Regions from separate parts of the Homo sapiens genome. Here all the other regions are linked to region 1. Evidence: promoter capture Hi-C in human tissues and cell types (Jung and others, 2019). All regions are on one chromosome and are shown on one strand. Each heading gives the region's core, a stretch centred on a gene start or on the middle of the fragment in contact. The rest is flanking DNA. Distances are from core to core; before and after follow the strand shown.

Evidence for each region. Contacts are between HindIII fragments. The study calls those that stand out against the background at their distance.
Region 2: a fragment that was not itself captured here is called in contact with the fragment with the promoter of FBXO6 in region 1 in 3 of the 25 tissues and cell types used here (mesendoderm cells, neural progenitor cells and thymus).
Region 3: a contact is called between a fragment that was not itself captured here and the fragment with the promoter of FBXO6 in region 1, in 1 of the 25 tissues and cell types used here (adrenal gland).
Region 4: a contact is called between a fragment that was not itself captured here and the fragment with the promoter of FBXO6 in region 1, in 2 of the 25 tissues and cell types used here (dorsolateral prefrontal cortex and spleen).

What each region holds. Positions count from the first base shown.
Region 1 is chr1:11,661,359-11,666,377 of GRCh38, reverse strand. It overlaps FBXO6 (F-box protein 6), which reads right to left and starts at 2,178. Exons shown (of 6, transcript NM_018438.6): 1 at 2,123-2,178. It overlaps FBXO44 (F-box protein 44), which reads right to left. Exons shown (of 6, transcript NM_033182.7): 6 at 3,051-5,019. RefSeq lists an enhancer at 1,603-1,652 and silencers at 1,773-1,842, 1,893-2,112. The HindIII fragment of the contact is 9,200 bases long and covers 1-4,189 here.
Region 2 is chr1:11,410,114-11,417,528 of GRCh38, reverse strand. No RefSeq gene overlaps it. Among named protein-coding and RNA genes, the nearest start is that of DISP3, 65 kb to the left of the region's middle. RefSeq lists an enhancer at 592-1,276. The HindIII fragment of the contact is 9,718 bases long and covers 1-7,415 here.
Region 3 is chr1:11,522,884-11,530,298 of GRCh38, reverse strand. DISP3 (dispatched RND transporter family member 3) reads right to left here. Exons shown (of 21, transcript NM_020780.2): 11 at 6,244-6,357; 12 at 4,987-5,123; 13 at 3,464-3,648; 14 at 613-743; 15 at 340-512. Among named protein-coding and RNA genes, the nearest start is that of DISP3, 47 kb to the right of the region's middle. The HindIII fragment of the contact is 5,869 bases long and covers 1,074-6,942 here.
Region 4 is chr1:11,795,557-11,799,860 of GRCh38, reverse strand. MTHFR (methylenetetrahydrofolate reductase) reads left to right here. Exons shown (of 12, transcript NM_005957.5): 5 at 3,462-3,655. Among named protein-coding and RNA genes, the nearest start is that of MTHFR, 8.3 kb to the left of the region's middle. The HindIII fragment of the contact is 7,275 bases long and covers 1-4,304 here.

The DNA.
Region 1 (5,019 bases), core at 929-3,428:
AAAAAGGCTTTGCAACCTTGGCAACACAGGGAGGCCCCGTCTCTATAAATAGTGAAAAAATTCGCCGGGCATAGTGGCGAGTGCCTATGGTCCTAGCTACTTGGGAGGTTATGGCGTCAGGATCTTCTGAGCCCAGGAGGTCAAGGCTGCAGTAGCTCACAGGTGTGAGCCACCGAACCCAGCCCCTCAGATTTTTCTACCTTACAGTCCATGAGGCCTGCCGAGGTCACACTCTAGGGAAAGAAGGAGCCTGCTGGAGCAGAGTGAGCCATGATTGCTCCATGGCACTCCAGCCTGGGCAACAGAGCAAAACTGTCTCAAAAAAAAAAAAAAAAAAAAAGAGAAAAGAAAAATGCTTTGATGGAAAAAAAAAATAACAAAAAAACCCAATGTGGCCAAGTCTTCTAAGTTCTGAGAAGCAACTGTAAGCATTTGAAAAAAAATGTAAAAGTTGTCAATTAAAAATGCTTGTAGTCTAGGCAACATAGTGAGACTCTGTCTCTAGAAAAAAAGAAATTAGGTCGGGTGCACAGACTCAGGCCTGTATTCCCAGCACTTCGGTAGGCCGAGGCGGGCGGATCACAAGATCAGGAGTTCGAGACCAGCCTGGCCAATATGGCGAAACCCCGTCTCTACTAAAAATACAAAAATTAGCTGGGCGTGGTGGCGGACGCCTGTAGTCCCAGCTACTCGGGAGGGTGAGGCAGGAGAATCACCTGAACCCGGGAAGCGGAGGTTGCAGTGAGCCGAGATCGTGCCACTGCACTCCAGCCTGGGCAACAGAGTGAGAATCTGTCTCAAAAAAAAAAAAAAAAAAAAAAAAGGCCGGGCGCGGTGGCTCACGCCTGTAATCCCAGCACTTTGGGAGGCCGAGGTGGGCGGATCACGAGGTTAGGAGATCGAGACCGTCCTGGCTAACACAGTGAAACTCCATCTCTACTAAAAATACAAAAAATTAGCCGGGCTTGGTTGCAGGTGCCTGTAGTCCCAGCTACTCGAGAAGCAGGTGCCTGTAGTCCCAGCTACTCGGGAGGCTGAGGCAGGAGGACGGCCTGAACCCGGGAGGCGGAGCTTGCAGTGAGCTGAGATCGCGCCACTGCACTCCAGCCTGGGCGACAGAGCGACACTCCGTCTCAAAAAAAAAAAAAAAAAAAAAAAAAAAGAAATTAGCTAGGCCTGGTGGCCCGTGCCTGTAGTCCCAGCTATGCAGGAGGCTGAGGCAGGAGGAACGCTTGAGCCCAGGAAGTCGAGGCTGCAGTGAGCCGTGATCATGCCACTGCACTCCAGCCTGGGTGACAGAGCAAGACTCTGCCATAAATAAATAAATAAATAAATGCTGGCAGCTTCTAAAGGCACTGTCTAGACTCTAGACGAAATAAAAGTCACTGGGCTCCAAGCTAGAGGCATCTAGGCACCAATAGCTTCCCACCGTGGTGACCGAAGTCTGGTCTCTGGCCCAGTCCGCATTTTCTTGCGCCCCTTCCCCCCCCCGGCCCTGGGCATTTTGTGGTGGGGAAGTCCATGCCAGCCCTAGGAAGCCCTCTCACACCGATCGGGGTCCCCAACTGCCCGGCCCGGCGTCTCGTGCTCGCCTTCTCCGCACCCACCCTCCCAGCAAGCTCTAGTGGCATTGTTACTTCACCGGTTTCTCGGAAACAGAAACTGTGGCTGGGGCAAGGCAAGCGCCGGATCTCGCAGGCGTGTGGGGGCCTGGAGGTCCCTTGACAGTTCTCCGAACCCGGCGCCGGCCTCGGGATGTGGCCGGGGTGGAGGCGGCCGCAGAGCCTCCGCCTGGGTGGCCCCGGGGCCAGGCCCCCAGTCGAAGTCCGGGCCCAGCCGCCCGCGCCCCCCACCCCTGGCCGCCCGGACCAGCGCCCGCAGGCTCCGTGAACGCCCAGGCGCCGGAGACCCCGGCTCCCCACTCGCCCGCCGCCCGTCCCCCCGGGGACGCGACCTGGGCGCAGCGGCGGAGCTCCAGGTCGGCCCGAGCCTACGGCCTCGGCTTCGTTGTCGCTGGGCCCCGCCGCCGCGTCACGCGCTGCGCTCGGTCCCCACCCCCGCCCCGGACCCCGCTGCCGTCCCTCTCGGCCCGGCCCCTAACCCTCGCCGCGGGAAGACGAACCTGGGATCCCCAGGGCCCGGGCCCTCGCTGCGGCCTGCGTGTCCTGAAGCTGTCTCCCCCTCCAGGCGGCGGGCGGCTCAGCACCCACACCTGCACCCGCCTCCTACGCAGGGCCGAAGCTCCCGAACGCGCGGCCGCTCCCCGGACCTCCGCACTAGTTCCTTCCTTATGCGGCCCAGGGCTCCACCCTTGACCCGCGGTCCCCTCCCTAGAGGCAGGACCTGACACCCAGTGGGCTCCTTCTTTCCCTAGGGCGTGACCTCCGCAGGCTTCATAGACTCAAAGGTAAAAAACCTGAGGTGCTAGGAGGTGGCTAACGCCTGTGATCCCAGCACTTTGGGAGGCCGAGGTGGGGAGGATCGCTTGAGGTCAGGAGTTCGAGACCAGCCTGGCCAACATGGCAAAAACCCTGTCTCTACTAAATATACAAAAATTAGCCGGGCGTGGTGGCACAGGTCTATAATCCCAGCTCCTCCGGAGGCTGAGGTGGGAGAATCGCTTGAACCTGGGAGGCTGCAGTGAGTGGAGACTGTACCACTGCACTGCAGCCTGGGCGACAGAGCCAGACCTTGTCTCAAAAAATAAAAAACCTCTGAGGTTTTTTATCAGGATTAAGTTCATGAATTTCTTCCATCAGTCAACAAATATTTAGCAAGCACCTTGTTCAGGCAACCACCAAGGGTTGTGCAGGCTGTGTACTGCACAAGGGGACTGGCCCAGGACACATTAATTGCAGTCAGGGCTACATGTTCTCCGTGGAAGGCCGTCCTTTTGCAGTTTGCCATGGGCTGGTGGGTGGTGATCCTGCCCTGGCCAAAGCCCTTATCTAGCTCACCCTTGACTGAGATAGCTAAATGTGAGGAGTACTTATTGAGCACTGGATTATAGTCCATGTTCACACTGCTATAAAGAAATACCCGAGACTGGGTGATTTATAAAAGGAAAGAGGTTTAATTGACTTATAGTTCCATATGGCTGGGGAAGCCTCAAGAAACAATCGCTGGGCGCGGTGGCTCACGCCTGTAATCTCAGCACTTTGGGAGGTCGAGGTGGGTGGATCACGAGGTCAGGAGATTGAGACCACCCTGGCCAACATGGTGAAACTCCATCTCTACTAAAAATACAAACAAAATTAGCCGGGCATGGTGGTGGGCGCCTGTAGTCTCAGCTACTCCAGAGGCTGAGGCAGGTGAATGGCGCGAACCTGGGAGGCAGAGCTTGCAGTGAGCTGAGATTGCGCCACTGCACTCCAGCCTGGGCGACAGAGCGAGACTCCATCTCAAAAAAAAAAAAAAAAAAAAGAAAAGAAAAGAAAAAAGGAACTTACAATCATGGTGGTGGAAGGTGAAGGGGAAGCAACGACCTTCTTCACATGGCGGCAGGAGGGAGCCGGGGAAACCGTCACTTGTAAAACCATCAGATCTCGTGAGAACTCACTCACTATCATGAGAACAGCATGGGGGAAAACCGCTCCCATAATCCAATCACTTCCCACCAGGTCTCTCCCTAAACACCCAGGATTACCATTCAAGATGAGATGTGGGTGGGGACACAAAGCTTAACCATATCACGCACCAACTGTGTGCCAGGCACCATTCTAAATGCTTCGGCTTCATCCAATGTCCGTAAAGCTGTTGGCAAAGAGTAACACCAGGAGGCAGAGCCTGGGTGGCACTGCTGATCTGGCACAAGGTGGACTCAAGAGCTGCCCAGAGATGTCCACACACCCCAACCCCAGCCTGTGGCTGGGCCTCCAGAGGAAGCCAGCAGTACTGGACGGCTGCCAGGTGAGATACCTGCAGCTCACTGAGGGGTCTGCCCATGAACCTGTTTCTGTGATGGCCTGGTTCCTGAAATGCCAACCCCTCTGTACCTTAGACAGAAGCCATGCCATTGTACCATCTGCAGGTCCAGGCAGGACCACCTAAAGTCTGCCTTTCCTTCCAGAAACCACAGGGCACAGGTTAGACTGGGCACACCTTTTATTTGGCTGCATGCAGTAGGGCGAAGTCAGGAGAACACTGCTATCTTTCCAGCAGGACAAGAGGCAAGTTCCAAGGGTGGTTGGCTGGGAGACAGAGGTCTTGGGAATGGCAGTTCTAGGGGTGGGGTGGGGGCTTGGAATGCTCTCCAAGCCAGAGGGGGCCGGGCCTGGATTTGGGAGGTGGACAGGGGATTCTTCAAACCCCCTACCATACTCATCCAGGGCTCATGTGTCCAGCTGTCAGAGCAGGTCCCAATCCTGCTCCCCATCTACCCTGGGACATCCTGTACAGGATTCCCTCAGTCCTCTGGGAACCTAACCCCACCTGGTACCCATCTAGCTTCTGGGGCTCCACTGACAGTGAGGACAGTCCACACCCGACCTGGACCCCACCCCACCCTGGGTCTGTCCATCTCAGTCCCGGCCTGAGCCTCTGGGCCAAAGCCACCTCTTCTGAGCAGGCAGGCAGAGCGAGAGACTGGGAGCAGCAGACAGGGGCAGAGCACGGCCCATGAGCCCACCCTCCACTTCCCAGATTGGTCAGAGTTACATGGTCACCTCCCTGCACCTGCACCATCAGGGCAGCTGCAAGCTTGCCAGTTGTCTTGCCTGTCCCTGCTCCGAGGGTCAAAGAACACAGGTAGAATGGTCCCAGGAGGGGAAGGGAGAGACAGATCCAGGCTGGCCTCCAAGCTCGACTTTCTGAGGGGCCCAGGGGAACATGCTGCACCTCCCACATCTCAGGTGCTCCGTCTCTGAAAGGGGCACACGCAGGCTTCCCCGGCCATCATTCAGGTCAAGACCTTTCGGGGAGAGCTGGCCCGACCCCAGCATGCGAGGGCTGCCCACACTGAGAGGCTCCACAAAGAAGAGGCTGCTAGGGGCAAGGGTTAGAGGTCTGGGGACACCTGGC
Region 2 (7,415 bases), core at 1,972-4,471, 250 kb after region 1:
CACTAGCAGGCCCTGCAGTCCTGAGTCTTGGCAGTCTGGGAGAGGGGGACGGGCCTCCTCCTGAGAAGAGGAGCCTGACCCCACCAGGCCTAAAGAAAACAATTACATTTGCATTTCATTTGAAGTTGAGACAACTGCTGCTGTGGGCTAATGACGAGCCAATTGATTACCAGAAACATATGTGTGGAAGAGGAATCATTCATTAGGCAGGAGTTGCAGCTCAGATGTCAAGCAGCTGTCGGCAGTTCCTGGCCTTTTGGAGTCTGGGGAGCTGCCAGGATGTCTTTGCTCGGGAAATGAGTCCCCAGGATGGGCCTCAGTGTCCCAGGTCTCACTACCTTCTCAACTTCCTCTGTAAATAGGGATAATAGGGGCCAGCTGAGTTCACAGTCAGTCAACAAACACTTAGTGAGTCCCCACTCTTGGCAAGATGCTGTGTCTTAAGATACAGAAAGGAATAAGACACAGCTCCAATCTCAGAGCACTCTGTAGACCTTGGTGAGAGCTGCAAAGCAGTGGGCCCAGGGAGCCATGGAGGCTCAGCGGAGAGGATCCTCCTGGAGACTGGGATGGGATGAGGAAGTTGGGGAAGGCTTCCAGGAAGAGGTGACATTTGAGCTGAGTCCTAAAGAGTGAGGAGGAGTTGGCCAGGAGATGAAGGGCATTTCAAACAGCAGGACCAGCATGGGCAAAGGCTTGGAGGCCGAGAAAGTCTGGGACATTTGGGAAATTGAAAGTGACTTGTTTAGGCTGGAGCACAGGGAGCATGTGAGTTGCTGCGGCTGACGGGCCAGCAGGGGCCAGATCATAAAAGGTGCTATGGACCAAGGGGAGGAGCTGGAGCTTTGTCCCCTGGGCTGCTGCAGATGAGTGACTGGGGAGGCTTCCAGGAGACACACCTGAAGGGTAGCGAGCACAGCAGTACTGCCAGAGGGAAACTGATCCGAGATCACTGCAGGACTGGCCAGAGGGAGAAGCCGATCCTCAATCGTTGCCCCTAAGATCTGAGCTCATCCCGTGAAGGGCTCTGGACCTGGACTGGTCACTACAGAGGTCCCAAATAGAGGCAAGGGAACAGACGTTTGTATAGTTACATCTGTCATTGTCAGGGGGCCTGCAGGGAGGGGTGGGGTAGGGTGTGACATTGATCAAGACAGGTCTATAGGCCAAAGGCAATGCTCTGTGAGGGGCACAGTTTTGAGCTATCAGCAGCTTCTAATTCCAGCAGCTAGGGGTGGGTGCATGCCCTGGAAGAGGGAACCTGGGTGGAGACTGCAGTACCCGTTACACCTTGTGTGACTTGGAAAAGCCTCTTCTCCTCTCTGGATCTCAGGATCCACAACTGGAAAAAAAAAAAAGTTTGGGACCTGTGGTAGGCAGAACAATGTCCCAAAAGATGTCCACATCTTATTCCTGGAATGTGTGACTAGATGACCTTCCATGGAAAGAGTTTTTGCAGATTTGAGCGAATTAAGGACTGAGATGGGGAGATTATTCTGGATGGCCTGGGCGGATCCAGTCTAATCATCCAAGTTCTTAAAAAGGAGAACTTCTTTCTTCTGTGGAGATAGATATGGTCTTCCCGGCTTTGAAGATGGACAAAGAGGAATGATTCCAGGGATTCCAGTGGCCTCTAGAAGCTGGAGAAGGGAAGGAAACAGATTTTCCCCTAGAGCCTCCAGAAAGGTGTGCAGCTGTGCCAACACCTTGATTTTAGCCCAGTGAAATCCATGTCAGGCTTCTGACCTTCAAAACCATTAGGAAATACATTTGTGTTGCTTTAAGCCACTAAGTTTGGGGTGATTTGTTATAGCAGCCATAGGAAACTAATACTTAATCGAAGTCTAGGGGCAGCTCATGAGATCTGATGGATTGCAGACATGCACTACAGACCCTAGACCTGCATCGTCTGTCGAATTTTCTTTAATGATGATTCTGTTCTATGTCTGTGTTGTCCAATACACCAGCCACAGGCCACGTGTGGCTCTTGAGCACTTGAAACGTGGCTAATGCAGCCGAGCAACTGAATTTTTAATTTTCTTTGATATTAACTTAAATTGAAATAGTCACATATGGCCGGTGGCTACTACACTGGACAGAAAGTTCCATTAGACAGCGCAGCTTAGAGGCTGAGGACTGAAGTTCAGGGAAGAAACCGCCCGCAGCAAGAGGTCGGAGGTCCTCATCCTCTATTCACTTTGAAGAGTCCAGATATCTGCAGAACAGCTTTCTTTCCTCCACTCCCTCCAGTGGTCTGGCTAATTGGATAAGGACTTCCCCATATCTTTGTGGCCCCTGAAGTCCCTTACAGAGCCCCACTCTCCTCTGCTGTGCAGACGCGGGCAACTTGCCACCTTCGAGAGAAAGCTAAGTGTTGTCTGCAACAAGGCTGTGCCGGTCAGTGGCGCTGTTGGCGGCAGACATCTCAGAGAAGACGAGGCTCGGGCACAGCTGCCCTGGCCCAGGGCTGTCGTCTGTGGTTTGGAGAAAAGCGAGGCAGTTTCTCTTGGAGCTGGGCCGCAGATGGCACCCAGCTCCCAGCAGGGGCTCTGGATTTCTTGGAGCTAAAAGAATGTCCAACATTACTAAGAAGCAGCCTCGTATTCTCACAGTTATCTGCGACCCCTAGGAGGTCAGAGCAGCTGGAAAGGACCTCAGGATGTAACACCCTGAAAGCAAGGTGACACCCTCAGAATATCATTTTTCTGGGGGCGTCAATAGTTTAAACAGACTTTTTTTTTTGAAACGGAGTCTTGCTCTGTCACCCAGGTTGGAATGCAGTGGTGCCATCTCGGCTCACTGCAACCTCTGCCTCCTGGGTTCAAGCGATTCTCCTGCCTCAGCCTCCTGAGTAGCTGGGATTACAGGTGTGTGCCACTACACCCGGCTAATTTTTGTATTTTTAATAGAGACAGGGTTTCACCATGTTGGCCAGGCTGGTCTTGAACTCCCAACCTCAAATAACCAGTACTCGGCCTCCTAAAGTGCTGGGATTACAGGTGTGAACCACTGTGTCTGGCCTCAACAGGTTTTTAAAGGGGTCTGGGACCCCCCTAAAAAGTTAAGAAACACTCTGCCTCCTCATAGCCTTGTAGACTCCTCCCCTCTGCCCTCCAATCCCTCATCCCCCAGCTCTGCCTCCTAGAAATAGCTCCCCAGGCCTATTCCCCTGGGACCATTTTTCTCTCCCTCCCCTCCCCCACCTGCTCCAGCTGGGCCTCGCTCTCCTCCCTGCTCCTGACAAGGCTCGTCAATTCTGGAGGAAAAAGCCAGGCATCCTTTGTACTTCTTGGGGCAGACAAAGCAGGGTGAGGAGGGGAGCGCGTGTACAAACAGACTGATCTCCAGAAGAAAGGAATTACGCGAATTACAATTGATTTTCCACTGTTAATGAAGCATGAACCCGTGTGATTGCATCTTGAAAAGATTTATAATTATTCATTGAATCTTGGAAGATAATTAAACTTCATTAAACACAGACATGACAAGCTTTCAGAGCAAGCTGAGACCTCCATGCAAGGCTCCGCATTGGAGCAAGAGATACAAGGCTGGGCTCCAGTTGAGGAGGAGAAGGAGGAGGAGGGGGAGGAGGAGAAGGGGGAGAAGGAGGGAGGAGGAAAGAGGGAGGAGGGAGGAGGAAAGAGGGAGGAGGGAGGAGGAAAGAGGGAGGAGGAAAGAGGGAGGAGGAAAGAGGGAGGAGGAAAGAGGGAGGAGGGAGGAGGGAGAGCTATCACGAAAGAGTCTCAGCTAGAAATGCAGCCAATCTTGGGTCTTCCAATTTCTCTCCCTACCCTTTAGGGACACCTCCTGGGGAACCTCCACCTACTGCCACCCTCCCCTATCCATGCCCATGTCCCTCCCTCTCAGCAGAGGAGGAATACTGGGAAGGGTGAGGACAGCCTCTGCTGTCCTGCTGTGAATCCCTGCTGAGTCCAGCACCAGGGCCACGGCAGTGGCGGAGGGGGCTGGGGGAGGGAGGAAATGGAGGAGGGGAAAATAAAGGAAGGGTGGTGGGTCCCAAAGCGTGTGTGTGTGTGTGTGTGTGTGTGTGTGTGTGTGTGTGTGTGTTGCCCGCTTCGTGAGATTACAGATTCATGCCTTCTGGAAACCCTGCGGAAGGAGGAGGCTGCCAAACTGCTAACAGTGTTTACCTTGGTGGGGAGCAGAGAAAGCGGTGGGATAAAGGAGGGAGAGAATTTCACTTTTTCTCCATAATACGCTACTTTGGTGTTTAATCGCACAGTGGGTCGACCTAGATTCAGATACAACACGTGGTCGGCCATGTGCTTCACACCAATGTGTTGGCCCACGACGGCCACATAGATGACGGTGGTCCCGTAGGACGATAATACAATATATTTACTGTGCCTTTCTTATGTTCACATATGTTGTGATACACGAATACTACGGTGTTAGCAGCTGCCGAGAGCATTTGGGACACACACACTGTGCAGGTTTGCAGCCTAGGAGCAACGGGCTCTACCATAGAGCCTAGGTGTGGAATAGGCTACGCCATCTAGGTGTGTGTAAATACACGCTATGACGTTCACACAAGGACGAAATCACCTAATGATGCATTTATCAGCCTCTGACGCTGTCATTAGCAAAGCATGACTATAATTTAAAAAATTTTAAAATACATAAACCAGGATCTGTTCAGCACATATTCATGATTGAGGGCCAGGCTCTGAGCTAAGTGTGCTGGGGACAAAGACATGGCTCAGACCGCACTGGACCCTCCTCAGGGAGTGCACAGCAGTGTGCATGTGTGTGTGCGTGTATGTGTGCGTGTGCACTTATATGACACATGACTGGTCGGGCTGGTTGTAAAGACTATCGTAGGGAGGTGGCCTTGCTTCTGCCTTCCTGGGTAGGGGGCACCCAGGCTCCTCACCCTTTATCTATTCCAGGCCATCCCTCCCCATCCTTTGGGGTTCCCTTCTGAAGATGCCTCCCATCCCTCCACCCATCCTGATCCCTCTGCCAGGATTAAACCCACCCTCATGAATGATGCCATAAGACGTCTCCTCTTGTCAGGTATACAGCCCCACACTCACTGCCCCCTCCCCCTTCCCCGCCTCTCCAGGATCTCACTGTTTCCTGCCAAAATGACAGAAGGAAGGAATATTAATGGGGCTGCCCTCACCATGTCCTCTTCATTGAGCTGCTTTTTGGCAGGGAGTATGTCTTTCTAAGGACAGGCTGGGAGCCATGCCCCAGCATGGGGCTGGCCCAGATTTCATGGCAGGGCTAGGAGGTCACTGATGGGCCAGGTGGTTGAGGGGGAGTTAAAGATCGGGCAGGGCTGGGGGGAGTTGTATTCAAGGCAGGAGGGTGGAAAGGATGGTGGGGGTGGGGGGGCAATCCCTTAGCAAAGAGGCCAAGATCCCAGTCCTAAGCCAGATGGCCTACTTTCCAATTATGGTTCTGCCATCTTGCAACTATGCATCCTAGGGTAGGTTATTAACTTCTCCATGCCTCAGTTTCTTCATTGTGGGTTAATACTACTGCCCCTTCATGGGGTTGGCGAGAGCAGTCAATAAGATGATACATGCAGAGTACTGGGCACAGTGCCTGGCACAGCAGAGAACCTCAGTAAATGGCAGCAGTTGTTGTGTTTGTGTACAGACACACCTTGGAGATATTGTGGGTTCAGTTCCAGACGACTGCAACCAAGCAAGTATTGCAATAAAGCAAGTCATATAAATTTCTTGGTTTCCCAGTGCATGTACAAGTTACATTTACACTATACTGTAGTCTCTTAAGTGTGCAACAGAATTATGTCCAAAAAAACAATGTACAGACTTTAACTTTAAAATATTTTATTGCTAAAAAGTGCTACCAATCATCTGAGCCTTCACTGAGTCATCATCTTTTTGCTGGTGAAGGGTCTTGCCTGGATGTTGACAGCTGTTGACCAATCAGGGTGGCGGTTGCTGAAGGTTGGGATGTCTGTGGCAATTCCTTAAAATAAGACAACAATGAAGTTTGCACATTGATTGACTCTTCTTTTCATGAAAGATTTTCTCTGTAACATGTGATACTGTTTGATGATAGCATTTTTCCCATAGAACTTCTTTCAACATTGAAAACACTGCTGCTGCTTTATTAACTAAGTTTATGTAATATTCTAAATCCTTTGTTGTCATTTCAGCAATGTTCACAGTTCACAGTTCAATGTTCGCAGCATCTTCACCAGGAGTAGATTCAGTCTCAAGAAAATACTTTCTTTGCTCAGCCATAAGAAGCAACTCCTCATCTGTTCAAGTTTGATCATAAGATTGCAGCAATTCAGTCACATCTTCAGGCTCTGCTTCTAATTCTAGTTCCCTTGCTATTTCCACCACATCGGCAGTTCTTTCCTCCACTGAAGTCTTGAACCCCTCAAAGTCATCCATGAGGGTTGGAATCAACTTCTTCCAAACTCCTGTTAATGTGGATTTTTTACCTCCTCCCATTAATCACAAATGTTCTTGATAGAAAGGAGCATGGTGAATCCTTTCCAGAAGGTTTTCAATTTACTTTGCCCAGATCCATCAGAGGAATCACAATCTATGGCAGCTTTAGTGTTACAAAGTGCATTTCTTAAATGATAAGACTTGAAAGTGAAAATTCCTCCTTGATGCTAGTTTGCTGCAGAATGGATGCTGTGTTCGCAGGCATGAAAACATTAATCTCCTTGCACAACTCCGTCAGACCTCTTGGGTGACCAGGTGCCTCGTCCATCAGTGGTAATATTTTGAAAGGAATCTTTTTTTCTGAGCAGTAGGTCTTAAAAATGGGCTTAAAATATGCAGTAAACCATGCTGTAAACAGATGTGCTACCATCCAGACTTTGTTGTTCCATTTATAGTGCACAAGCAGAGTAGATTTAGCATAATTCTTTTTTTTTTTTTCCTTAAGATGGAGTTTTGCTCATGTTACCCAGCCCAGAGTGCAATGGCATGATCTTGGCTCACTGCAACCTCCGCCTCCCGGGTTCAAGCAATCCTCTTGCCTCAGCCTCCCAAGTAGCTGGGATTACAGGCACGCACCACCTTACCTGTCTAATTTTGTATTTTTAGTAGAGACAGGGTTTCTCCTTGTTGGTCAGGCTGGTCTCGAATTCCCAACCTCAGGTGATCTGCCCACTTTGGGCTCCCAAAGTGCTGGGATTACAGGCATGAGGCACTGCACCCGGCCTACTTAGCATAATTCTTAAGAGCTCTAGGATTCTCAGAATGGTAAATAAACATTGGCTTCTATTAAAGCCATCAGCTGCATTGGCCCCTAAAAATAGAGCCAGCCTTGAAGCCAGGCATTGACCTCCTCTCTAGCTAGGAAAAATTCCTAGATGCCATCTTTCTTCCAATAGAAGGCTGTTTCATCTGCACTGAAAATCTGTTGTTTAGTGTAGCCAAGGATCATCAAGTTTA
Region 3 (7,415 bases), core at 2,759-5,258, 140 kb after region 1:
CAGAGAGAAAGCCACGGCCGAGCTCAGAGGAAGGGGGAGGGCAAGGAGGAGGGCACGGAGGTGTCCACCTGGATTGCCCTCTCTCCATTCCAGTCCCTCACAGGCATCCAGCTTGGGCCCTAAACCCAGATTCCTGGGTGAATCTAAGAGGTCAACGCCATTGAGTCCTCAAGAAAAACCGGACCCCCAGGGGCCCATAGGGGTTCTGTCTGGGTTAGAGGAGCCATTGAGGAGCCAAGAGGGGGTGTGAGGAGCTGGACATGGTTCCCTGGACAGGTGCTTATTTGCAAGACTGTTGCAGCTGGGGCCCTCGGCATCTGCCCGACGCATGCCCCGTACCGGGTCTCCAATGACGTGGTTGTCCACCTGCCGAGTGCGGTTGACGCCAATAATGCCGAAGACCACAAAGACCATGGCCCCGGTATCCACTAGTGGCCGCACCGCCGGCTTCCCGCAGCCCGTGTTCACGCAGGGGTTGAAGCCGAAGGTGGCTGAGAGACGGGCCTTGGGCACTGCGAACAGGGAGTCACAGCTGTAAGGGAAGGCAGGGTCCAGCTCCTGAGCCCCGAGGTCTCAGCTCTTGAGGTCCCCACCTGTGTGCCCTTGCCGTACCTTTCTCACTAGGCACGAAGAAGAAGCCTTTGGTAGGCCCATCGGGGCTGGAGCTAAGCAGGCAGCCAGGGGGTGCCATGCATACGCGCCCGTGGAAGGGGGGCTTGTGGGACTGGGCGAAGTACAGCTTCCTGTGGAGGGAATGGAGGCTGGGCTGAGGCCGGAAAGGCTAGGAGGAGTCAGGGGAGGTGAGGCCAGCAGGCCAGGGTTGGGACTGGGGCTGGGGTGTCATGGGGTCTGGACTCGGGCTCTGCCCCGGCATGGGGATTTGTTCTCAGGTTGAGGGCTGGGGGATGTGCCCTGGGCTGGGGGTCTGGAGGCTGTTCTAGCCCTGCCCCTGCCAAGGCTGACTATGGGAACCTAGTAAAGGCCCTGCCCCTCTGGGTCTCAGTCTCCCCATAGGAGTCATGAAGGGTGGAGAAGACCAGCAGCTTTCAAACTGTCCCCCGGGGGTACGAGGGTTCAGGAGGGACCCCCAGGGCCAACCCTAGTGGTCCTCGCTCAGAAGCCCCCAGCCTTGCCTCAACCCCAACAGTTAGGGAGTCTCTAGATTCTATAGGAAGGAAGGGCTCCAGTGTCAACAGCTGGCTAACCACTAGACCCAGTGCAGCTCAAAGTTCTTTCTAGAATGTTTCCAGCTCATCCAGGCAGCCTGCCTGACCCCTGGCCCACTGATGTGTCTGTGCAGAGTGAGCCCAGCCTGGGGCTCAGGGGAGGACAGGCAGAGGGGCCCCCACCCCCGAGTCAGGGTCCCAGGCTGGAAGGGACCCAGTGGGTGGCTGTCCTGCCATTCCCTGGCCTCCAAGCTGCAGCCCTCAGCCCCATGCAGAGTTCAGGCTCCTGTGGGTGTTTGACACTCCAAAGCTAGCCCCGTCAGAGACCAGTCTCCATGTGTCACTGAGCCCCATCGGAGACCACAGTCCCCGTGCATCACCAAGTTCTGTCAGAGACCACAGTGCCTGTGTGTCACCGAGCCCCGTCAGAGACCACAGTCCCCGCGTATCACCGAGTTCTGTCAGAGACCACAGTCCCTGTGTGTCACCGAGCATGGCCTTGTACCACTGTTCTCCACAATGACAGTGGGGCTATTTCTTTCAGAGCACGTATCATAGTTTGTAATGATATCGCTGTTTACTTGTTAGTGGCCTGTCTCCCACTAGACAGCTCGAGGGCAGGAGTCACATCTGTCTTTGTCACTACCATATCCCTAGCACAGTGCCAGCACAGTTGAAGCCCACAGTTTGTTAAATCAGTGAACGGCAGAGAGAGGAGACCTTTGGCTAATATGGCCTCCACAGATAAATGGATGCAGGGCTGTGTTTACAACATGGGGAATGAAACCCCAGAAAAGGTGCCCCTGGATGGCGTGGAGATCCCGAGAGCACAGAATGCAGCCTCTGACTCGGCATGTAGTAGGGACCCGACTTCACACTGGGTGCTAGCAGGGACTGGGCCTGTGGCAAGTGAATACAACAGGGGCCCTCCCCTCGCTCTCCTTCCAGCAGAAGGGGCAGGGGCATTAAATAAACATTTTCTGAATTAATGATATATTTAGAGTGTGGGTGAGTGCCTTGTCAAGGAAGTGTGGAGTGTACTCATTCATTCATTCAGCAAGTACTTATTTGTACCTACTACGCCAGACACCCGTGACAGGTGCTGGGGAGGCGGCACCAAATGAGACGGCCAAGGTGCTACCACAGGATGCCTGTGTGCTCCTGTGGGAAGACAGGTAACACTGCAGGTCAGCATGGTGGCAGGTGGCAATGGGGCCAGGAGAGCAGTGGGTGACGTATGGAGAGAGGCTGGATGTGGCACTTGGAGAGGGACAGCCTCTCCCAAGAGGTGACTTTTGGACAGGGACTTGAATCTTGAGAAGTTGTCTCACACTTGAGGAGCTGGGAAAAGCATTCTAGGCACAGAGAGCAGTAAATGCAAAGGGCCTGAGATGGAAAGGGGCCTGGTATGCCAGAGGGACAGCCAGGTGGCCACTGCAACCCCTGAGGAGCTATCAAGGTGGGGAGCAGCTCCCGGGCCCGTCTCTTTGCCAATGTTCTCCACTCCCCAGCCCTGGGCAGAGACCCATCTGAGCAGGTAGGTGGAAATGGACAGCAGTTTCTTTTTCTCTTTTTTTTTTTTTTTGAGATGGAGTCTCGCTCTGTTGCCCAGGCTGGAGTGCAGAGGCGCGATCTCGGCTCACTGCAACCTCTGCCTCTGGGTTCAAGTGATTCTCCTGCCTCAGCCTCCTGAGTAGCTGGGATTACAGGTGCGTGCCACCATGCCTGGCTAATTTTTTGTATTTTTAGTAGAGAAGGAGTTTCACTGTGTTAGCCAGGATGGTCTCGATCGGCTGACCTCGTGATCCGCCCACCTCGGCCTCCCGAGGTGGGATTACAGGCATGAGCCACCGCACCTGGCCAGCAGTTTCTTAAAGGAGTCTGCTGGCATCCCTCAGGGCTGGGTGCAGTGGCTCACGCCTGTAATCCCAGCACTTTGGGAGGCCAAGGCAGGTGAATCACCTGAGCTCAGGAGTTTAAGACCAGCCTGGCCAACATGGCAAAACCCCATCTCTACTAAAAATACAAAAATTAAGCAGGTACCAGTGGTGGTGCATGTCTGTAATCCCAGCTACTCAGGAGGATGAGGCAGAAGAATCACTTGAACCTGGGAGGCAGAGGTTACAGTGAGCCAAGATTGTGCCACTGCACTCCAGCCTGGGCAACAGAGTAAGAAAAAAAAAAAAAAGTGAGGGGGCCTGCTGGCATCCCTCATGTGAAAAGAGAGAGAAAAGAGAGAAAAGGGCAAAGAAGCAGCCGGGCTGATGGGCACCGGCTTGTCTGCCAGGCTCTGTTACCGGGTGTGCTGCTGCTCCTTGGTGGCCACGTAGAAGCTGAAGTCAAACTTCCAGCCCCGCTTGGCATCACAGGCCAAGGTCGTCAGCATCCACTTGCGGGAGGGGCTCGCCGCCTGGAGCAGCCCTACTGTAGACATACAAGCGGTCAGCTTCTTGGTGAAGTTACCAAAAGGCGCTCTATACACCTAAGCAGTGGGTTGACAGAGACAAGACACATGACTCGGGGGGGCTGCCTCGGCCTGGGCCAGCCTCAGGCTCCGTCCCCTCCCTCCTCGGCATAGTTCACCCTGTCCCAGTCCTCGGAGTTGGGGACAGAGCCCTGGGCAGAGGCTTGGGAGGCCTGGGTTTGAGTTCAGCACTTGGGCAAATCCCTTCCTCCCTCTCTGAGCCTTGTTTCTTCCTTCAACAATCATTCACTGAGTGTCTGTCCCATGCCAGGCACTGTGCCAGGCTCTGAGGGGCACGGTCCCTGACCTCTTGGAGCTGGCAATGATGATGGCTTCCAAGAATAAGGAAGACAAGACAGGATAAATGGCAGGGAGAGGAGGGCAAGGCGAGAAAGGCGCCGGGGCAGGGCTCTGTGGGGACCAACAGGCATGTTGAGACCTGAACGAGCACCTAGGAGTCAGCCACGCACGAAGCTGAAGGAAAAGCTTTTCAGGCAGTGGGAACTGCACATGCGAGGCTTAGAGGCAGGAAAAGCCTCAGAGACCTCATCTTCCAAATGGAAATATAAATCCTGAACAAATGAATTGGCGCGTGTCCCTGTCACCATGGAGGGTGTGTACCACGTTAAAGAAACACAAATGAGCCTGGGCTACACAGAGAGACCCTGTCTCTACAAAAAATAAAAGATAAAATTAGCTGGCATGGTGGTGTGTGCCTGTGGTCACAGCTACTCAGGAGGCTGATGAGAGAGGATCGCTTGAGCCCAGGAGGTCGAGGCTGCAGTGAGCTATGATCATGCCACTGCACTCCAGCCTGGGTGACAGAGCAAGCCCCTGTCCTCCCCCCACCCCCAAGAAAAAGAAAAGAAACACAAATGACTCCCATGAAGGGGAAAACTCAAGTCTGGGCTCGGGGACTCCTTTCTGCAGCGCTGGAGCAGCTACCAAGGACAGCAAGATTCCTGGCCGCCACTGCCTGAGGAGGGACTGCACCCAGGCGTTCTGCACGGCACAGGCCTCACCTCACACCCCTCCAACAATGCTGGCTGGTGCTTGTTGCATCCCCATGTCACAGATGAGGAAACTGAGGCTCAGAGAGTAAGTAATCTGCCTAAAGACACACAGTTAATAAATGGCAGAGCCAGGATTTGAATCCAGGCCTGGCTGACTCAGAAGCCCACGCTGCTACCACTCGGCAGGTCCCTGTCACAGACATGGCTGGTTTAGGGGAGGGGGGTCTTCATCCTCAAAGCTGCTTCTCCCTCCCTATTGGCCAGGGCTGCCCACCAGTGTGGCCCTGAGAGCCCCCCACCACCCACAGTGGTGGCGGCTCACTTCACGACAGCCCAGGCTCACCTGGAAGGAGGGCACCTCTCCATCCCCAGGCGACACAGCCTGCCAAGGAGCAGGCAGGCTGGCATTGAGGGAGAGCCTGTAGACAGCGGGGTGGCCTTGACTCTTCACTTTAGAGATGTACACGGTGCCTGGGAAATCTACGGACAAATAAGGGATGAAAGAGGGGTGGACTTGACCTCGACTGGCTTCTCCTGACCCTGGAGCAGCCCACCCTCAGCTCTGTCGACTAACGAGCTCAGTCCTGGCCTTGGGCTCATCTCAAAATGCTGGCTGTGCCCCTCTCTACTGGACCAGGTCCATGGCAATAATAGTGGGGGAGGTGGTGGGCACAGGATGGGGTGGCAGGGATGGTGGGGGAGGTGGTGAGGGAGATAGTGGGCACAGAGATGGGGTGGCAGGGATGGTGGGGGAGATAGTGGGCACGGGGATGGGGTGGCAGAGATGGTGGGGGAGATAGGCACAGGGATGGGGTGGCAGGGATGATGGGGGAGATGGTAGGCACAGGGATGGGGTGGCAGGGATGATGGGGGAGATGGTAGGCACAGGGATGGGGTGGCAGGGATGGTGGGGGAGATGGTAGGCACAGGGATGGGGTGGCAGGGATGGTGGGGGAGGTGGTAGTCACTGGGATGGGGTGGCAGGGATGGTGGGCACAGGGATGGGGTAGGAGGGATGGTGGGGGAGGTCGTGGGCACTGGATGGGGTGGTAGGGATGGTGGGGGAGGTGGTAGTCACTGGGATGGGGTGGACTAGATAGCGGAGGTGACAGTGATGGAGGGCATCCTGCTGAAAATGTGCTAGTGTTGGTACAGGGCTGGTGCTGGGAGTGACAGTAGTAGGAGAGAGGTGGCAACAGTGCCATAGGGTGACAGGGACAGACACAGCTGCCTGATGGGGCATTCATTCCCCCAGTACACTTGACCCAGCACCCACCTCTGAGGGAGACTCCAGCAGGGACAAGCCAGTGTTCAGGGCCCAGGATGCCCACCTCTGCCCCTGGACACTCAGGGTGGCTTTGGTGCACAGGGAGGCTCTGGGGGCACCACAGACCAGGGTGTCGCGGGAGCCTACTGTCCTGGCGGGATGGGAGGTGAGGGCCCCAAATTCACCCCCCATCCCCAGCTCCTCTGCAGTGACCAGGAACACACAATCTCCTTCTTGAAGGAGAATCCAGAAGGAATTTTATCTGCTCTCCTTACAGGGCCTTCAACCCTAGCACCAGGGAGGATTTCCCCACCCTCCACCCCCAGTGCTCACCCTGCAGGGTGGCCTCAGGCCGGCTAGCCCAGGGGACCCCTGAGCCTCGCCTCTTCTTCTCCAGGGACGTCCGGATGTTGTTCTGCAGGCTGTGGGGCTTCTCCTGGAACAGACCTGCCCCCCAGCGCCATGTCAAGGACAGCAGGACAGCAGGACATCCTGGCCTGGGCCCGATGGGCAGAGGGAAGAGGCTGGGATCTGAGACAGTCTCAGGAACTGGGGCCCAGGGACTGGAGGGGGTGGGTGTCAGGGGTCAGAAAGAAACTAGAAAGAACTTTTAAAAAATCAAATACCAAATTTATAGGAATTTTAGGCCCAGAGAAAGGCACCATCAGCCTGCCCAGAGAAAAACACTGAAACGCTCCCTGCTCGCCCTCTCTGTGCCACTCTGCCCCCTGCTTGCTGTCTCTGTGCCACTCTGCCCCCTGCTCGCCGTCTCTGTGCCACTCTGCCCCCTGCTTGCCATCTCTGTGCCACTCTGCCCCCTGCTCGCCCTCTCTGTGCCACTCTGCCCCCTGCTCGCCCTCTCTGTGCCACTCTGCCCCCTGCTTGCTGTCTCTGTGCCACTCTGCCCCCGCTTGCCCTCTCTGTGCCACTCTGCCCCCGTGCTCACCCTCTCTGTGCCACTCTGCCGCCTCTGTCGGGTGGAGATGATGCCACACTTCCCTCGGGGGTGGGACATCACATCCTCTGCATCCAATTAACAGGAGTGACTGTTAGAGTGACCCAAGGTCATCAGCTGGCAGACATGGTGGGAGACATATATTCCTGTTTTGCCTCAAGCGTTGTGTGTTAGCCCTTCCTTTGGGTTTTTTAAATTAGAAATGAGAGAACTACACCTTCAAAGTTTTAATCCTCACAGCCATCCTGAGGCTGTTCCCATGAACCCCACTTGATGGAGTGGAAAGCAGAGGTGAAAGGACCTGCCCAGGGAGGGACTTGCAGCCCCGCTGGGTTCTGGCCTCGCCTGCCCTTTGTAAAGCCGAAGCACTCTGCTGTACTCTGAAGGGGTCCCTCCAAGAGGCAGTTCCCAGAGGAAGAGGCACAGGGAGTAGGGGCTGGGCTCTGGCTGGGCTCCGGCTGGGTCCTGGCTGGGTCCTGGTTGGGCTCTGGCTGGGTCCTGGCTGGGTCCTTGCTGGGTCCTGGCTGGGCTCTGGCTGGGTCCTGGCTGG
Region 4 (4,304 bases), core at 1,441-3,940, 130 kb before region 1:
CAGGAGTTTGAGACCTGCCTGGCCAACATAGCGAAACCCCGTCTCTACTAAAAATACAAAAATTAGCCAGGTGTGGTGGTGCACGGCTGTAGTCCCAGCTACTCAGGAGGCTGAGCCAGGAGAATCTCTTGGACCCAAGAGGCGGAGGTTGCAGTGAGCCGAGATGGTGCCGCTGCAGTCCAGCCTCAGTGGCAGAGCAAGACTCCATCTCAAAAAAAAAAAAAAAACAACACCCCACAAAAGAGGGATATTTACTAACAGGATTCCAGAGGGCAGGGAACCCAAGATCAGGAGATGGCCTCAGACCTCACAAGGCACTGGAAGAGGTCAAAAAGCAAGGCCCTCCCTCATTCCCTCTGGGGCCACAGGGTCCCCCATCTCCGCTTCCCACTGCACATCTGTGCTTCATCTGGGAGACCTGATACCCATGCTTTTCCACACACCTGGCCTGCTCCTGAGTGTGCAGAGTGTCAGTTCCAGCCAGTTCCCCAGGCTAATGGACAGGCCTCCGTTCCAAATTCCCAGGAAAGAGAATCACCATTGGCCACAGCCACAAGACCAGGTTCCCCCAACAGAAATGGGTGGGTTGGACTTCTCTCCCACCCTTGAAGCTGAAGGCTGGCATTGAGCCCTCAGCGTCTCAGACAGCGCTCAGGTATGGCAAGACAGTGTGCACCAGGGACAGGAAGTCCCGGGATTGGCACATTTTCTGGGATGACAGTTTTTTTGCCAATATTCTGGGAGAAATCCTACCATTTTTATATTAAACATGGCTATGTTATGGAGTAGCATCTAAAGTGATATGAACTAAAAAAAAAAGGCCAGGTGCGGTGGCTGAAGCCTATAATCCCAGCACTTTGGGAGGCCAAGGCGGGTGGATCATGAGATCAGGAGTTTGAGACCATCCTGTCCAACATAGTGAAACCCCGTCTCTACTAAAAATACAAAAATTAGCCGGGCATGGTGGCGCGTGCCTGTAGTCCCAGCTACTTGGTAGGCTGAGGCAGGAGAATCGCTTGAACCCAGGAGGCGGAGCTTGCAGTGAGCCGAGATCGCACCAATGCACTGTAGCCTGGGCAACAGAGCCAGACTCCGTCTCAAAAAAAACAAAACAAAAAACCCAAAAAACAAACCACGTGGCTTCAAGAAAATTACATGTTGTGAGTAACTTTGGCCTTGTCCCTAACCCCCGATGGACATGTCCATTCTGTCAACAGGGGTGTTTAGGTGCTAAGTCTGGGAAGCACTGATTAGGAGTCAGAGAACAGACATTTCCAACTGTTAAATTGTCATCGCTTGTATCAGCCATTATATAGTCAGTTACTGGGGGAATATGCACCCGTGATGGGCGTTAGGTGATAATGATTGGAAACTAGTGAAGCTGTGAGCTCACAGTTGCTGAATGGTTTCTTACTTTGCTTATCAAGTGGGTAATGAAGATGAGTGGATTAGAAAACACCAACCTGTTGGGCATGGTAGCTCATGCCTGTAATCCCAGAGCTTTGGGAGACTGAGGCAGGAGATCAAGACCAGCCTGGGCAACACAGTGAGACCGTGTCTCTACAAAAAATAAAAACATTTTAAAAAAGAAAGCCCTCAGCTGTTCATGATAGAAAAATAGAGTAAATAGCAAAATCTATACGTAATCAAATGCTAGATTTGTTCGGTGATATTTAGGTATTGTAGCTATACTTTTCAGCTATTAAAAAGCCTTGTTGTTTCTGAAATTCCTACTGGGAAAATAGCTTTGTTATTGCAAGTGTGAAGCCCCATTGCTTTATCCCCCACTCCCTTACCCCTTGAAACAATAGTTTTTATATTCATTTTTTGATGACTCTGGGTTTCTTAAGAACGGAACTGCCTTATCAGAGCAAAGCAGCTTGGCCTTCCGCCTGGCTCAGAGTCCTGCCCTGGGCTTGGGCTGATGAAACCAGCACTCCATGTAGTTTCATGAAGGCCTATGGTCATCCTGCTTGCCTGACCGAGCAAGGCGGCTAGTAAGTTTAGTCATTGAGGAAAGGGGTCAGAGAGTTCACAGAGCCAGTAAGGAGCCTATGGGACATCTGATCCCACCTCCTAAGCAATTCTGGAATCTTGTCTTCAGCATCCACTGCCCCTGTGTTTTCAGACTCCAGGAGCTCATTGTTTTGTGAGTGGCTTATAGTACTCTAGCCAGCTCTCTGAACCGGATGCTGGTTCTGCCATTAGAAACAACACAGAATATGACTAATAAAGAACTTCACTAGGGGGCTGGGTACAGTGGCTCATGCCTGTAATCTCAGCACTTTGGGAGGCCAAGGTGGGAGGATTGCTTGAGCCCAGAAGTTCCAGACAAACCTGGACAAGATAGCAAGACCCCATCTCTAAAAAATAAATAATTAATTAAAAAAATTTTTTTTAATTAGCCAGATGTGGTGGCTTGCATCTGTAGTCCAAGCTACTCAGGAGACTGAAGTGGGAGATCACTTGTGCCCGGGAGTTCAAGGCTACAGTGAGCCATGATTGTATCACTGCACTCTAGCCTGGGTGACAGAGCAAGACCCTGTCTCTGAAACAAAACAAAACAAACTCACCTATGGTGGATCCTTTTTCCCCAGGACAGACCTTTGGACATTTGAAAGGAGTTTCTGTATTCTTTTCATTCTTTTTTTTTTTTTTTTTTTTGAGACGGAGTTTCGCTCTCGTTGCCCAGGCTAGAGTGCAATGGTACGATCTCGGCTCACTGCAACCTCTGTCTCGTGGGTTCAAGCAATTTTCCTGACTCAGCCTCCTGAGTAGCTATTACAGGCATACACCACCACACCTGGCTAATTTTTGTATTTTTGGTAGAGACGGGGTTTTACCATGTTGGCCAGGCTGGTCTCGAACTCCTGACCTCAGGTCATCCTCCTGCCTTGGCCTCCCAAAGTGCTGGGATTACAGACATGAGCCACCGCACCCTGCCATCCATTATTTTCTTTGAAGAAAACATCACTTTCTTCAGTTCTTCCTTGTGTAACTTGGTTTTTAGCTTTTCACTATCTTGGACCCCTGAGTAATTTCAGTGTTACATTAAAAACAATGTTTAATCCGGTGCCTAGAGAAAAGTCAAGCTTACTACCCCAGATGCTGCCCAGCCAGTGCTAACTGTAGCATTTTCTCTTTTCTATGGCCACCAAGTGCAGGCCTGATTTGCTTGGCTGCTCAAGGCAGGACAGTGTGGGAGTTTGGAGCAATCCACCCCCACTCTTGGAACTGGGCTCTGAGCCACCTCCCCTGAGAGTCATCTCTGGGGTCAGAAGCATATCAGTCATGAGCCCAGCCACTCACTGTTTTAGTTCAGGCTGTGCTGTGCTGTTGGAAGGTGCAAGATCAGAGCCCCCAAAGCAGAGGACTCTCTCTGCCCAGTCCCTGTGGTCTCTTCATCCCTCGCCTTGAACAGGTGGAGGCCAGCCTCTCCTGACTGTCATCCCTATTGGCAGGTTACCCCAAAGGCCACCCCGAAGCAGGGAGCTTTGAGGCTGACCTGAAGCACTTGAAGGAGAAGGTGTCTGCGGGAGCCGATTTCATCATCACGCAGCTTTTCTTTGAGGCTGACACATTCTTCCGCTTTGTGAAGGCATGCACCGACATGGGCATCACTTGCCCCATCGTCCCCGGGATCTTTCCCATCCAGGTGAGGGGCCCAGGAGAGCCCATAAGCTCCCTCCACCCCACTCTCACCGCACCGTCCTCGCACAGGCTGGGGGCTCTGGGTGGAGTGCTGAGTTCGCTGAGTTCTTCCCAGATCTCCTCTCAGGTCCAGAACTTGCACAGCGTTGCTTGGCCACCCCATTTTGGTTACCTCTAATTTTCCCCCCAAAACCCAGCAACAGTGTCTGTTGAGGGGTTTGTTGTACTTTGGCCAACAAGCATCACCAAAAGGGATTCTAATTCTCATTACAAATCCTGCTTAAATCAGTGTTTCCCAAAGGTGGCTGTCATCAGAACCACTTGATAAGCTTTTTCAAAAAGTGGATCTCCAGGTCCCACCCCTGGAGGTTCTCACTCAGTAAATCTGAGGGAGGTCCTCGGAATGTGTGTTTTACTTCTTGAGCTTGGCAGGTGATTCGGATGATCAGTGCAGCATGGGAACAGCTGGGTTAGATGACACCATGTTACCAACAGACACATCTAGGGCTAAAAGGCTGGCTCAACCCAAGGCTGGAATGCTTAGGGCAGCTGCTCTACTCTGTAAAAAGTGGGAAAGCTGGGCATAGTGGCACGTGCCTGTAGTCCCGGCTACTTGAGAAGCTGAGGCAGGAGGATGGCTTGAGCCCTGGCGT